2 separate regions of the Homo sapiens genome follow, and region 1 is linked to region 2. The links are contacts of gene promoters, found by promoter capture Hi-C in human tissues and cell types (Jung and others, 2019). All regions are on one chromosome and are shown on one strand. The core of a region is centred on a gene start or on the middle of the fragment in contact, and the rest is flanking DNA. Distances in the headings are between cores, read along the strand shown. Region 1 overlaps FRMD5 (FERM domain containing 5). Region 2 holds the start of SERINC4 (serine incorporator 4).

The links. Contacts are between HindIII fragments. The study calls those that stand out against the background at their distance.
Region 1: a fragment that was not itself captured here is called in contact with the fragment with the promoter of SERINC4 in region 2 in 3 of the 25 tissues and cell types used here (aorta, dorsolateral prefrontal cortex and hippocampus).

The regions. Positions count from the first base shown.
Region 1 is chr15:43,868,955-43,875,149 of GRCh38, forward strand. FRMD5 (FERM domain containing 5) reads right to left here. Exons shown (of 14, transcript NM_032892.5): 14 at 1,810-5,508. The coding sequence ends at 4,931. Among named protein-coding and RNA genes, the nearest start is that of WDR76, 45 kb to the left of the region's middle. The HindIII fragment of the contact is 6,836 bases long and covers 1-5,552 here.
Region 2 is chr15:43,798,970-43,804,768 of GRCh38, forward strand. SERINC4 (serine incorporator 4) reads right to left here and starts at 1,251. Exons shown (of 12, transcript NM_001258031.2): 1 at 916-1,251; 2 at 341-517; 3 at 1-168. The coding sequence starts at 1,017. It overlaps HYPK (huntingtin interacting protein K), which reads left to right and starts at 1,630. Exons shown (of 4, transcript NM_016400.4): 1 at 1,630-1,815; 2 at 2,163-2,218; 3 at 2,549-2,600; 4 at 2,742-5,458. The coding sequence starts at 1,654. The coding sequence ends at 2,837. It overlaps SERF2-C15ORF63 (SERF2-C15orf63 readthrough), which reads left to right. Exons shown (of 6, transcript NR_037673.1): 3 at 1,526-1,815; 4 at 2,163-2,218; 5 at 2,549-2,600; 6 at 2,742-3,620. It overlaps MFAP1 (microfibril associated protein 1), which reads right to left. Exons shown (of 9, transcript NM_005926.3): 9 at 5,523-5,799. RefSeq lists enhancers at 348-1,048, 1,049-1,749, 1,657-1,906. The HindIII fragment of the contact is 6,811 bases long and covers 1-5,194 here.

The sequences.
Region 1 (6,195 bases), core at 885-3,384, 71 kb after region 2:
AGTATTCTGGTCTTTGAGCTTCCTTTCCACCAAGAAGATTTTGCAAGGGGAGTTCTCCAGGAAAACAGGGAGCCTTAGGGCTATGGATACAAGGATTTAAATCCTTTCAGCTAATGTACAGTACATGGGGTAGGGTGGGGGAGAAGACACACATGCCTTCTGAATCAATCTGAGAAGAGGAAATATATGCCCTCTAACTTCAGATTCCAAAAACTTCAATGTCCTATTGGGCGGTCCTTTCTGACTTAGTACATTTCCCCCTGCTTTTTAGTAGGGTGTTGATGGCTAGAAATAACAAGACAGCAGATTGTATTTTGACTTATTTGGCTGTAAATACTTGGATTTTCAAATGAAAAGGTAGAATTTATGAGGAAGATAACATTTAGTACACTTACACGGAGCTGAAGAACAAAACATTTTATGATACATTTTCCCCAAAATGGAAACTGGGCAAGAGGAAATTTATTAAAAGGGTGCTTTGCTTGTTTTACTCCATTCCATCAGCAGGTCGTAGGGGTCTGAAGAGGAAGCCTGTTCATGAGCTAAAACCAAAAGTGTGTTCAGGTGCAGAGGAGCTAGATTGTGCTAGAGGAACCCAAAGCAGAGGGAGTAGGGACTAGAGTCCTACAGGGGTGTGTGCACAGGTAGTTCTTGATAAGCTGTCAGCAGAAGGGAGGCTGCTGTGAATCGGCAGGGCCACGGGAAGCCACCCAGGTCCAGTGTTTCTTGTGCTTTTTACTCTTTGGATCACTTCAAGCAAAATCTTATGTCATAAAAACAAAAAATTCCGCTGGGGATAGGGTGCTAGATAGCATTTTTTAGGTAGTGGGTACCTCTGAAATTTGGAGGTAACATAGCCTGATTGGTGTTTAGGAGGATGATCTGGCAACAGAAATGGGAGAGTGGAGGGCAGGCAGAATTGAAAAGACAAAGATTAGGTAAGAAGCTAGCACAGTGGACCAAGCCCCCATTATCACCTCTTATCCTCATGGAATTTAGAAGACCATTTCCAATTCCGTAGCCACAGAGTGATGGTTACATAATCAGATGAGATAATGCTATAGGGATATATTTTGTAAATATGTGGTGGTGGTATCATTGTAGTTCCTTCTTAGAAAGTATTTTCTGTGCTCCCACTTACTCCAGGCTTGAGTAAGAACAGCAGACCAGAAGGTGGACAATCTGGGTTCTAGTTTGGACTCTACCACTATGTAATCTTGGGAAAATCACTTAGTCTTCTTGGTTTTCCTCATCAGAAAAATACCCAATTCACTTTAAAATTATTACATATATAGCTTCTCAGTTTTTTTTTTTTTTTTTTTTTTTGATGTGGAGTCTTGCTCTGTCACCCAGGCTGGAGTGTAGTGGTGTGATCTCAGCTCACTGCAACCTCCGCCTCCCAGGTTCAAGCGATTCTCCTACCTTAGCCTCCTGAGTAGCTGGAATTATAGGCGCCCGCCACCACACCTGGCTAATTTTTGTATTTTTAGTAGAGACGGGGGTTTCACCACGTTGGTCGGGCTGGTCTTGAACTCCTGACCTCGTGATCCTCCCGACTTGGCCTCCCAAAGGGCTGGGATTACAGGCGTGAGCCACTGTGCCTGGCCGCTTCTCAGTTTCTAACAGTATTTATCTGGGGGTAAGGACAAGGATAATAGGTGGATACAAGCAAAATAATTATGTTATATGATCCAAGTGAATAGTAGTCAGCTGTGTAAATCCCACCAGTATCCTTTTATCTATGTGTTAGTAACTTTAAGGGAGGAAAAGTAAGACAGGCTATTATTAAAGAAAGAGCCCACTCTTCCATGATATTTAAATATTTATTTAAGTTTAAAAATAATCTTCATGGCACCAATGATTTTATGCTAACTACATACTGCATATGTAGAAAAAAGTACATTGCTTTGAAGGAAAATGTAACTTAAGAGTTTTTGGCACACAGAAGGTTAACAACTATATATTTTTAAATGTATCTAAGAAATTCACATTTGCAGGTAGTTTACCCTCTACTGCTTAAAGATGCAGTATGCTATTCTTTAGTAAGAGTTTTATTTCCTGATAGATGAAGCTATGAAAACCATTGCTTTTTCTACAATGAGATAAACTAATTTTGAGAGAAAATGAGAGACATGTTAGAACACAGTATAACCAGGTTAAAAACTTGAACAATTTTTAAAGGTGGAGATATACCAAAAAAGACTAGTCACCAATCAAAGGAGGTTTATTATTCAAGCACTATTTGAAAAGCAAACTGAAGGAAACTTTTCTATCCATATTTTCTGGGATGAGCCCTGGAAAAAAACAACCCTAAAGTTTCTGTTTACAGAGCAAAATTTAGCTGTTAGAAATGGCATAGACTACTGTACTGTTAGAACTCTAGACACAAGGAACATACTAGGATATGGAATACTGCATCTGTCTCTAATGTGAATATGAAAGGTCAGAGTTGAGGCTATCACTCACTGCATAGAAACACCAGATTCTACAAACTGAGGTAGGAGCACTACACTAAAAGGTAATCTTCTATGTTGCATAAGACAGTAGATACCAGGTGGACACCAGCCCCCTGTCTCCTGACAGCCTTTTCATCTCTGGGTCTACTTTTCACGTTAGTCCTGTGCTAAATAAAGCCTTTGCTATGTAGATGACAAGTGGCAGTGGCTAGTTGATTTTAACTGACCCCTAATCTCTACTAGGATCTCCTTCGGTTTGTATTGTCACTCGATAAATAGATGTTTATAATTCTGCCTAAATTGTTGCTGGTATGAAAATGGTCAGAGAAGCCCTCTTCCCTTCTTAGATTCCAGCTGTGTTTTAGCATTCCAGTATTTGATCTTGCCCATTTGGCATCAGACATCTCTTTGCTGGTTAGTTGTTCAAGCACCCTTTAAACAAGCAACCCTAGTGCCTCCACTGGGAAGAGGTCCCAGATCTTTGATACATGTCAGGCATGGAAACAGAGCTGACTGACCCTCTTCTGCTAACATACTGGTAAGGATCAGTTTTATTGTCTAGAGCAGGATTGGCGTATTATGGCCTGTAGGCTAAATTCAGCTCACTGTTTTCATAAAGTTTTATTGGAACACAGCCATGTTCCTTCATTTACAAATTATCTGTGGCTGTTTTTGTGCTGTGATGGCAGAATTGAGCAGTTGTGACACAGTATGGCGTGCTAAACCAAAATATTTACTGTGTAGCACTTGACATAAGTTGATTGACCTCTGGTCCAGATGAAAGGATGTCTTTAAAATTATGCAAATCTCTCCCTAAGAACCCCAATTATTCCACAGTTGTCATATTGTAAACATGGACATGGTTCTACCATCTCGGGGGACAAAATAGGGGAGGTCAAGTCTACAAGTGACTTGTTCTGTTCTGCGTTTGGGGCTGTCCAATTAGGGTATCAGCAGCTGCTCTACTTTTGTGTGGGTCCAGGAATATGTCCATTGACCACCCTTAAATAAGCCCTCAAGCCCCAGATGACTTAGAAATCTCTCCCTGAGATGAAAACAGGATCTTGTGTGTGATTGGTTTTAGAGTTGAAGAGCTTGGGCCTAGGATCCCACACTCGCCCTTCATATGCCTGTGCTGCGTGCTTCGAGGACTTCCCTCTGCAAGGATGGTGATGCTTTCCTAGAACTTATGCAGAGGATGACCCTAGGGGGCAGCATTTCTACATCTAAGTGTTGGTCTCTGCCACGGTCACATTCTGTGTTTTGTAGGCATCTCTTAGAAATCTATTTTAAAAGATTCTTTTCCTGGTCCCTTCTAAGGCTGTTGATCTTGGAATTCTATTTTCTGAAGCTTTTCATTCTCAGGATCAGTTTCTTTCTTGCATCGTTTAGTTCATCAGGCTCTATTTTCTTAATCCATAAAGTAAAAACAAAATATGAATTGTTAAGAAAATAACATTTCGTTGTTAAAATATAAATTGAAATAGTCTTTGGGTCAAGGGGGTGTATATAAAATAAGCACTGCTATCCAAATCTCAACAGTCTCTCAGGTAACTTAACTCTGCTTTCTCTTAACTACACTTTGTCCAACATTTCTGACAGAACTATCTATCTCTGGTACCACTGAATTCGTTTAACGCCCCTGGAGCACTATAAAAGTCTTGAGGTTCTTCGGAAAAAAAAAATCACGTTAAGTCTAGTTTCATTATACAAAACTATGGTGATGCCCACTAGGCTCTAGACTAAGGGGACAGACTTACCCCACCCCTGATGCTGCTGTTGCTGTAGCGGTGGTCCCTTCAGATGCCCACTCTGCTCAGATTTGAAAAAACAAAAGGAAAAGAAAATCCAACTCAGACCATCATAAGAAGCAACTTTCCATTTAATCATTCTACATGGATGTTTACTTTTTTAAAAGTTCTGGCTGGCAAAAAAAACAAACAAAAAACTAAACAGTCCCCATTGTCCAGATCCCTGGCCTGCCCTGCTGAGGCTGCAGTGATGAGTCTACTGGAACCCAGTGGCACCAGCAGGAAAAGCTCCTGCAGAATACAGAGGACAGCAGCTCTCTAGTTTTCAACTAGTGTCCCCTCTGCTAGGTGATACTACTGCAATAATCAGTAATAGTAAAATAAATTATTTTTATTTGATACTTCAAAATAATATACATCTATGAAAAATCAAAATTCAAAACCAAAAATTATCCTGCAAATTGGAAAGATGAGAAACAGAGTCGCTGAGCCTTTCTTGAAATAACTTCTGAAGAAAATGAGTTTTCCCAGTTTGTTTAGACAGGGCATGAGCCTATCCCTTTCTTCTTCTGGGAAACACCCTCCTAGGCTGCAGTGGACTTTGAGTCATGAGAGGAGGACTTGGTATATGTGCCGATGGTTCCGCGATGGGTCCCATTGCTGGGAATGGGTAGCCGGGTTCCTTGGTCCACCTGGCTAGTTTTTGGGAGGAGTCATGCCTTCTCAGGTGTCAATGAGCAGGCTCACCACTGAGCGGATTTTGCAGGCAAACCATCGCCTGAGGGGACAAAAGTATTGATAGTGGAATTGTTCAAACTCGGGGGTCTGGCGGATATCACGGAAAAAGGCAATGTCAAGGTCAGACTCGGTAAGGATGATCAGGAGGAGGAGCAAAACAAAGAGGAGTCCCATGGTCACAAGGAGCAAACGGAGGACACTTAGAACAAACTTATTCACCTGTTCCTCCTCGGGCCCGCTGTGCCCCTGACACAGGGCCCTCAGCTCTCCCCCAAGGGCCTCCACCTCTGTAGCAGTTGGGGTGCTGGCTTCAGATTCCTTCTCCTCCTCAATGCTGCAGGTGGCTCCATTGATCTGCCGGGAAAGCAACATCAGCTCCAGGCTGTGCTCAGCCACAGGGGTGGGCAGCACGCTGTCTGCAGGGCTGTAGGCCTCGTCTGCAATCACAGCTACTCGCTCATTGCTATCTGTCCGGCTGCTTCTCACGTGAGGCAGGAAGGTGTCCCCATGGGAAGTGGAACGCACTGGTGTGGAATGGGCACTGTCCCGTAAGGACTCTAGGCCTAGAAAGGCAAAAGGAACATGAGTAGGCTGTGTCCCAATGCACCCTTTGCTTTCCAGTAGCACCCATTGTGTTTTATTGGGTACCATTCTGCACACCCACATGACCAGCAGCAGTAGCCACTGCACTCTATTTTGATATATCGAGAAGACGACAGGCCGGGTATGGTGGCTTACACCTGTCATCTCAGCACTTTGGGAGGCCGAGATGGGTGGATCGCTTGAGGTCAGGAGTTCCAGACCAGCCTGGCCAACGTGGTGAAACCCCATCTCAACTAAAAATACAAAAATCAGCCGGGCCTGGTGGCACATGCCTGTAATCCCAGTTACTTGGTGGGCTGAGGCAGGAGAATCGCTTGAACCCGGGAGGCGGAGGTTGCAGTGAGCTGAGATCGCACTATTACACTCCATCCTCGGCAACAGAGTGAGTAAGATTCCATCTTAAAAAAAAGAAAAAGGCTGGGCGTGGTGCCTCATGCCTGTAATCCCAGCACTTTGGGAGGCCAAGGCGGGCGGATCATGAGGTAAGGAGTTCGAGACCAGCCTGGCCAACATGGTGAAACCCCGTCTGTACTAAAAATACAAAAATCAGCCACGTGTGGTGGCGGGCATCTGTAATCCCAGCTACTCAGGAGGGGAGGCAGGAGAACTGCTTGAACTTGGGAGGCAGAGGTTATAGTTAGCAGAGA
Region 2 (5,799 bases), core at 1-2,500:
CTGTGCCCGCGGGCTGGTGGGGGAGTGGAGGTGGACCAGCAACACAGCCTGCAGCAGGTGGAAGGTGGCGGTTCCTGCACATACTCGGTACACAGCCCCAGAGCCACTGAGCACTGGACAGTCAGAGAGGCCAAACAGGTGGGCACACAACCCCGAGGGCATCTGGATCTGGGAGTGTGTGTGAGAGAAATGGCAGGACAAGTCATAATGCATGGAAAGGTACCTACTTGTCACGGGTATGACCACTCATTTGTCTCCTGCCCCCAACCGAAACCTTTTCTATCTTAGGGTTTTTCCTTTTATCTCTTCCCACCTGACAACCCGACCCCCTCTCACTTACCCTGTGTGTCTTGCCCCACACCCTTTCCACTACTGTCCTTGACAGCAGGAGGCAGCAGATTGCTGAGGCCCCCACATGGAGGAGGATGTAGAACAGGCGGCTGCAAGTGGATGCGGTGAGAGAGGGCCACCTAGAGTGGCAGCAGCTGGCACAAGGAGCAGGCCCACAGCAGCACACCTGGGAGTAGAGCAGATGCAAGGCAGCGAGGTGGAGACTTGCTGAGGAAAGGCATACGTTAATGTATGTGTGAGGTTAACCCAGGAGGTTGAATTCCAAAATTTCCCCTTCCCCTTTCTTCCTTTTACTCAGGTTCTGTTTCAAGCTGATTCCAGCCATTTGGGATTGCCGCCCACTGACAACTTAGTAGGGCTTTCATTATAAGCAGGCTTGAGATATCTGACCTTTCTCTCGACCTAAACACCTGGGGCTGGAAACATGGCGGGAGAGATTTACAGATTATACCTGGGGCAACGAACCAGAACGACATTAGAGGAGAAAAGAGGCCTGTCGTTTTTATTGGCTTCTGCACGTCTTCCTCCCCAGCTTCGGCCACTCTCCCCTTCGCACCCTCTCACCTGACAGAAGGGACTTTTCACTAGGACACTGCTGCCTCCGCTGTGCTGCTGTGCCAGGCCCAGGGAGGTGCCGGGGCTGGGGCCGGCCTTGGCACCCACCATCCTTGTCCCAGGGATTAGGCTTAGGTCCACCAGATGGAAGGCAGATGAGAGCAGCAGTTGCTTCTGTCCTCAGCCCATTGGACTGCCACTGTGTTGGGGCTGAGCACCCGGTCCCGGGCAGAATGGAGACGTCCGGAAGAGAACACTGACCTCCAGGTTGCGGTAAATGCAAATGCCCTGTGAAGGAGCTTTGTCCTTAGGGCCTCAACACTGCGGCCACTCAGGCTGTTCTCTCCAGATTAGGGGGCAGTTTGTCTATCTGGCCCCCTGTGGATTAGCATTCTTTATTGGTTTAGGATTAGACGTCATTCAGGTTGAACGGAGTTCCCTGAGGTGGGTGGGTGCGTGTTTATGTGTTGAGGGGACTATTCCTAGTTTATGAGGTGGTTAAGGATATCGGTGGGGTGGGCTGGAGCGGTGTCGGGTTAGGTCTGAGAGAAGGCCTCGCACAAAACACTGTACAAACCCGAAAGGAAGTCTGAGAGACGAACCGCCTTCCTCCCTGAAGCTTCTAGAACTGGAGCAGAAAGAAGGTGTGGCCCAGGGCCAGCCCCGCCTCCTCCCCGGGCGGAAGCTGTGTCAGTTGCCGGAAGTCGGCGTGAGGTGGGGCTTATGCGGCGGCGTGGTGAAATAGATATGGCGACCGAGGGGGATGTGGAGCTGGAGTTGGAGACTGAGACCAGTGGACCAGAGCGGCCTCCGGAGAAGCCACGGAAACATGACAGCGGTGCGGCGGACTTGGAGCGGGTCACCGACTATGCAGAGGAGAAGGAGATCCAGAGTTCCAATCTGGAGACGGTAAGGTTGGCCAAGAGCATGTCGGGGCGGGCTGAGAGCAGAGGGGGGCTCTGAGGCTGTAGCTGGAAGCCAGCGCTCCAAGACGGGGTTCTGATCCCGTTGGCAGGAGGAGGCAATAGGGTAGAGCCGAGGGAAACAGCGGTCACCGGAGCGCGCCGCTTGCCTAAAGGAGCTTGATAGTGGGCTTAAGGGGACCTCAGGTGCATAGAATGGAATTAAACATAGTCCTTGCTACCTGGTAACACTTGTCATCGTGAATCCATGCATGAACCGCTTGTTTTGTTGGCCTTTTAGATTATTGGGAATTGTGGGTAGCGGTGCAGTAACTAGACCTGCCTTTCCCATAGGCCATGTCTGTGATTGGAGACAGAAGGTCCCGGGAGCAGAAAGCCAAACAGGAGCGGTAAGTCTTCAGGGGCAGCCAACTTTAACAGTTCTTCCCTCCCCGGTCCCCAGACAAAAATAAAAACCATTATTAAGCCTTTATACCGTTCTTCAAATTTATCACCAATTCCTGCAGATCTAGGCGCCACAACTTTACTCTTGTTAGCAGAAGGCCTCCTGGCAACACCTGCTGCCAAGACTCCAGGGGAAAGGAGTATTAGTGGGAGTTTTTATTTTCAATCAAGGGTTTATCAAGATTTATTTACAGGGCACTTCTGGGAATGACCCTTCCTGGGAGTTTATGGTGTTGGTTGAGAATGAGGACTAATATATTTAAATATTTTTGCAGGGAGAAAGAACTGGCAAAAGTCACTATCAAGAAGGAAGATCTGGAGCTAATAGTGAGTGGTAGTGCCTAACTAGTGTATGCGGAGGGGAGGCTATTCTGCTTAATTTGGGTTGTTTCCTGAAACAAGCGGAGTCAGTATATTTGGTGGCACATTAATGCCTGGGAACCTATGTAACATGATTTTTTTCTGCAGATGACTGAGATGGAGATATCTCGAGCAGCAGCAGAACGCAGTTTGCGGGAACACATGGGCAACGTGGTAGAGGCGCTTATTGCCCTAACCAACTGATGCGTGCTTTCTCAAATATACCTACTGGATTAATTTATGGCAATAAAATTTTTTTTTGTCTTTTTCAGTTTTATCATCTTGGGTCAAGTAGAGTGTATACTATATCCTATGTTGTGGAGAATTTATATGTTGGAGACTAACTGAATTTAAGTGACCCATTAAAATCTAGCACACCTGTATGAAAAATCAGTGTAGAAGAATACCTCATGTGCAGATGCTAGGTGGCAGGCCAGTCTCATTCATCTGACTAGCTCTCAACAGTATTCAAGGTACATCTGGAGTCTCAGCAGAGTTACTGTACTCAAATGGCATGTGTCTCCAAGACAGCTTATGAATATCTAAAAGGCCAGCTACCTGCCTAGGAGCCACTATATATATAGATAGATGTAGGTTATGAACCCAGTTCATAGGCCACCTTGAGTTAGAATTTTGGTACCTACAACATGCTTGATTTTGAGTGATTAAAAAAAAATAATTTGGCTGGGTGCTGTGGCTCACACCTCTAATCCCAGCACTTTGGGAGGTCGAGGCAGGTAGATCACGAGGTCAGGAATTCAAGACCAGCCTGGCCAACATGTGAAACCCCGTCTCCACTGAAAATAGAAAAATTAGCTGGGCATGGTGGTGGGCGCCTATAATCCCAGCTATTCTGGAGGCTGAGGCAGGAATCGCTTGAAATTGGAAAGCAGAGGTTGCAGTGAGCTGAGATCACACTACTGTACTACTGTACTCCAGCCTGGGGGAAAGAGTGAAACTCCATCTCAAAAAAAAAAAAAAAAAAAAAAGCCCGGGCACAGTGGCTCACACCTGTAATCCCAGCACTTTGGGAGGCTGAGGCAGTCGGATCATGAGGTCAGGAGTTGAAGACAAGCCTGGCCAACATGGTGAAACCCTGTCTCTACTAAAAATACAAAAAAAATAAAATTAGCCAGGCGTGGTGGTGCATGCCTGTAGTCCCAGCTACTCAGGAGGCTGAAGCAGAAGAATTGCTTGAACCAGGGAGGCGGAAGTTGCAGTGAGCTGAGATTGTGCCACTGTACTCCAGCCTGGGTGACAGAGCGAGACTGTCTCAAAAACAAAACAACAAAAAAGAATTTAGGGGCCAGGCATGGTGGCTCATGCCTGTAATCCCAACACCTTGGGAAGCTGAGGCAAGACGATCACTTGAGCCCAGCAGTTTGAGACCAGCTTGGGCAACACAGTGAGATTTCGTCTCTACCGCGCTCCCCCCACCACCAAAAAAAGAATTTAGGTACCTGAGGGTTAGAACATGGTAAGACTAGAAGATATCAAAGGTTGGGCCAGGTGTGGTGACTCATGCCTGTAACCCCAGCACTTTGGGGAGGCTGGGCTGGGAGGACTGTGTCAGGTCAGGATTTCCAGACCAGCCTGGGCAACATAGCATGACCTTGTCTCTACTAAAATTAAAAAAAAAAAAAGCCAGGCATGGTGGCATGTGCCTGTCTGTGGTCCCAGATACTCTGGAGGCTGAGATGGATTTGCTTGAGCCTGGGAGGTTGAGGCTGCAGTGAGCTGAGATTGTGCTACTGCACTCCAGCCTGGGCGACAGAGCAAGACTGTCTCAAAACGAAAAAAACCTATGAAAGGTTTTGATTGGTATTCAAATTCTAAGCCATAATACATTCTACATGCCATTTCCTATCCTAGAGAGAAGGTAATTTTACTTTAAAGGTTAATCAGGGCCGGGCGTGGTGGCGCATGCCTATAATCCCAGCACTCTGGGAGGCCGAGGCAGGTGGATCACCTGGGATCAGGAGTTTGAGACGAGCCTGGCCAAAATGGTGAAACCCCATCTCTACTAAAAGTACAAAAAAAAATTAGCTGGGTGTGGTGGTGGACGCCTGTAATTCCAGCTACTAGGGAGGCTGAGGCAGGAGAATCTCTTGAACCCAGGAGGTTGCAGTGAGCAGAGATCGCGCCACTGCACTCCAGACTGGGCAACAAGAGTGAAACTCCATCTCAAAAAAAAAAAAAAAAAAAATCAGCTTGGACCAACTCACACATGTTGAACTAGTTTCCTCAACTATAAAACTGTGACGGCCCCAGCTAGGCACAGTGGCTCAACGCCTGTAATCTCAGCACTTTGGGAGGCTGAGGCGGGCGGATCGCGAAGTGAAGATCAAGACCATCCTGGCTAACATGGTGAAACCCCGTCTCTACTAAAAATACAAAAATTAGCCAGGCATGGTGGCAGGCGCCTGTAGTCCCAGCTACTCGGGAGGCTGAGGCACTCTAGCCTGGGCAACAGAGCCGTCTCTTTAAAACAAACAAACAAACAAAAAAAAAACCCTGCAACGGCCCCTGAGTCTGCTGTAAGGACACTCAAATGGCAATTACAGACATTTCTCCAAGAGTTTCAAGGCCTTACCCTCATTCTGACTCTAGGATAATTCTTAGATTGTATCCCACACAACAGTGACTTGTACCTGTGTTCATCTTTATGTATTTACCACCTCATAGTAATTATTTGCATTCATTTTTATCGTACGACACTAAACTATTTGATTCTTCCAGTGGGACATTTAAAGGATGTGAGAAGACCTTGGTCTTCTCAAAAACATCTGTATTTGGTCATGGAATAAATCCAGATGCTACCTAAAGCCAAGCTAGTACCTGAGCTTGTTTCTGAGATCAAAGGGAATTATCAAAATGTGAAACACCTTCTGCCTGACAATTGTTATCTTTTACTTTAATAGGCAATTAATACTTGTCAGCTTGGACATTTTATTTCCAGTATCATGCTAAAAATCTCCTTGTTGTGTGATTCTTTTATTTCTTGACATGCACACATATATGGATCAAAAAGTATGTACAACTAGAAAAACGGACTCCAAGCAAAAATGGAAAACATGTTTCCATGAGCTTAGATTTCCGGGTATATTACTCCTAAACCTAAGGTAGAAGTAATGCATTGTTCACTTACATGTCCACTTTTCTAACC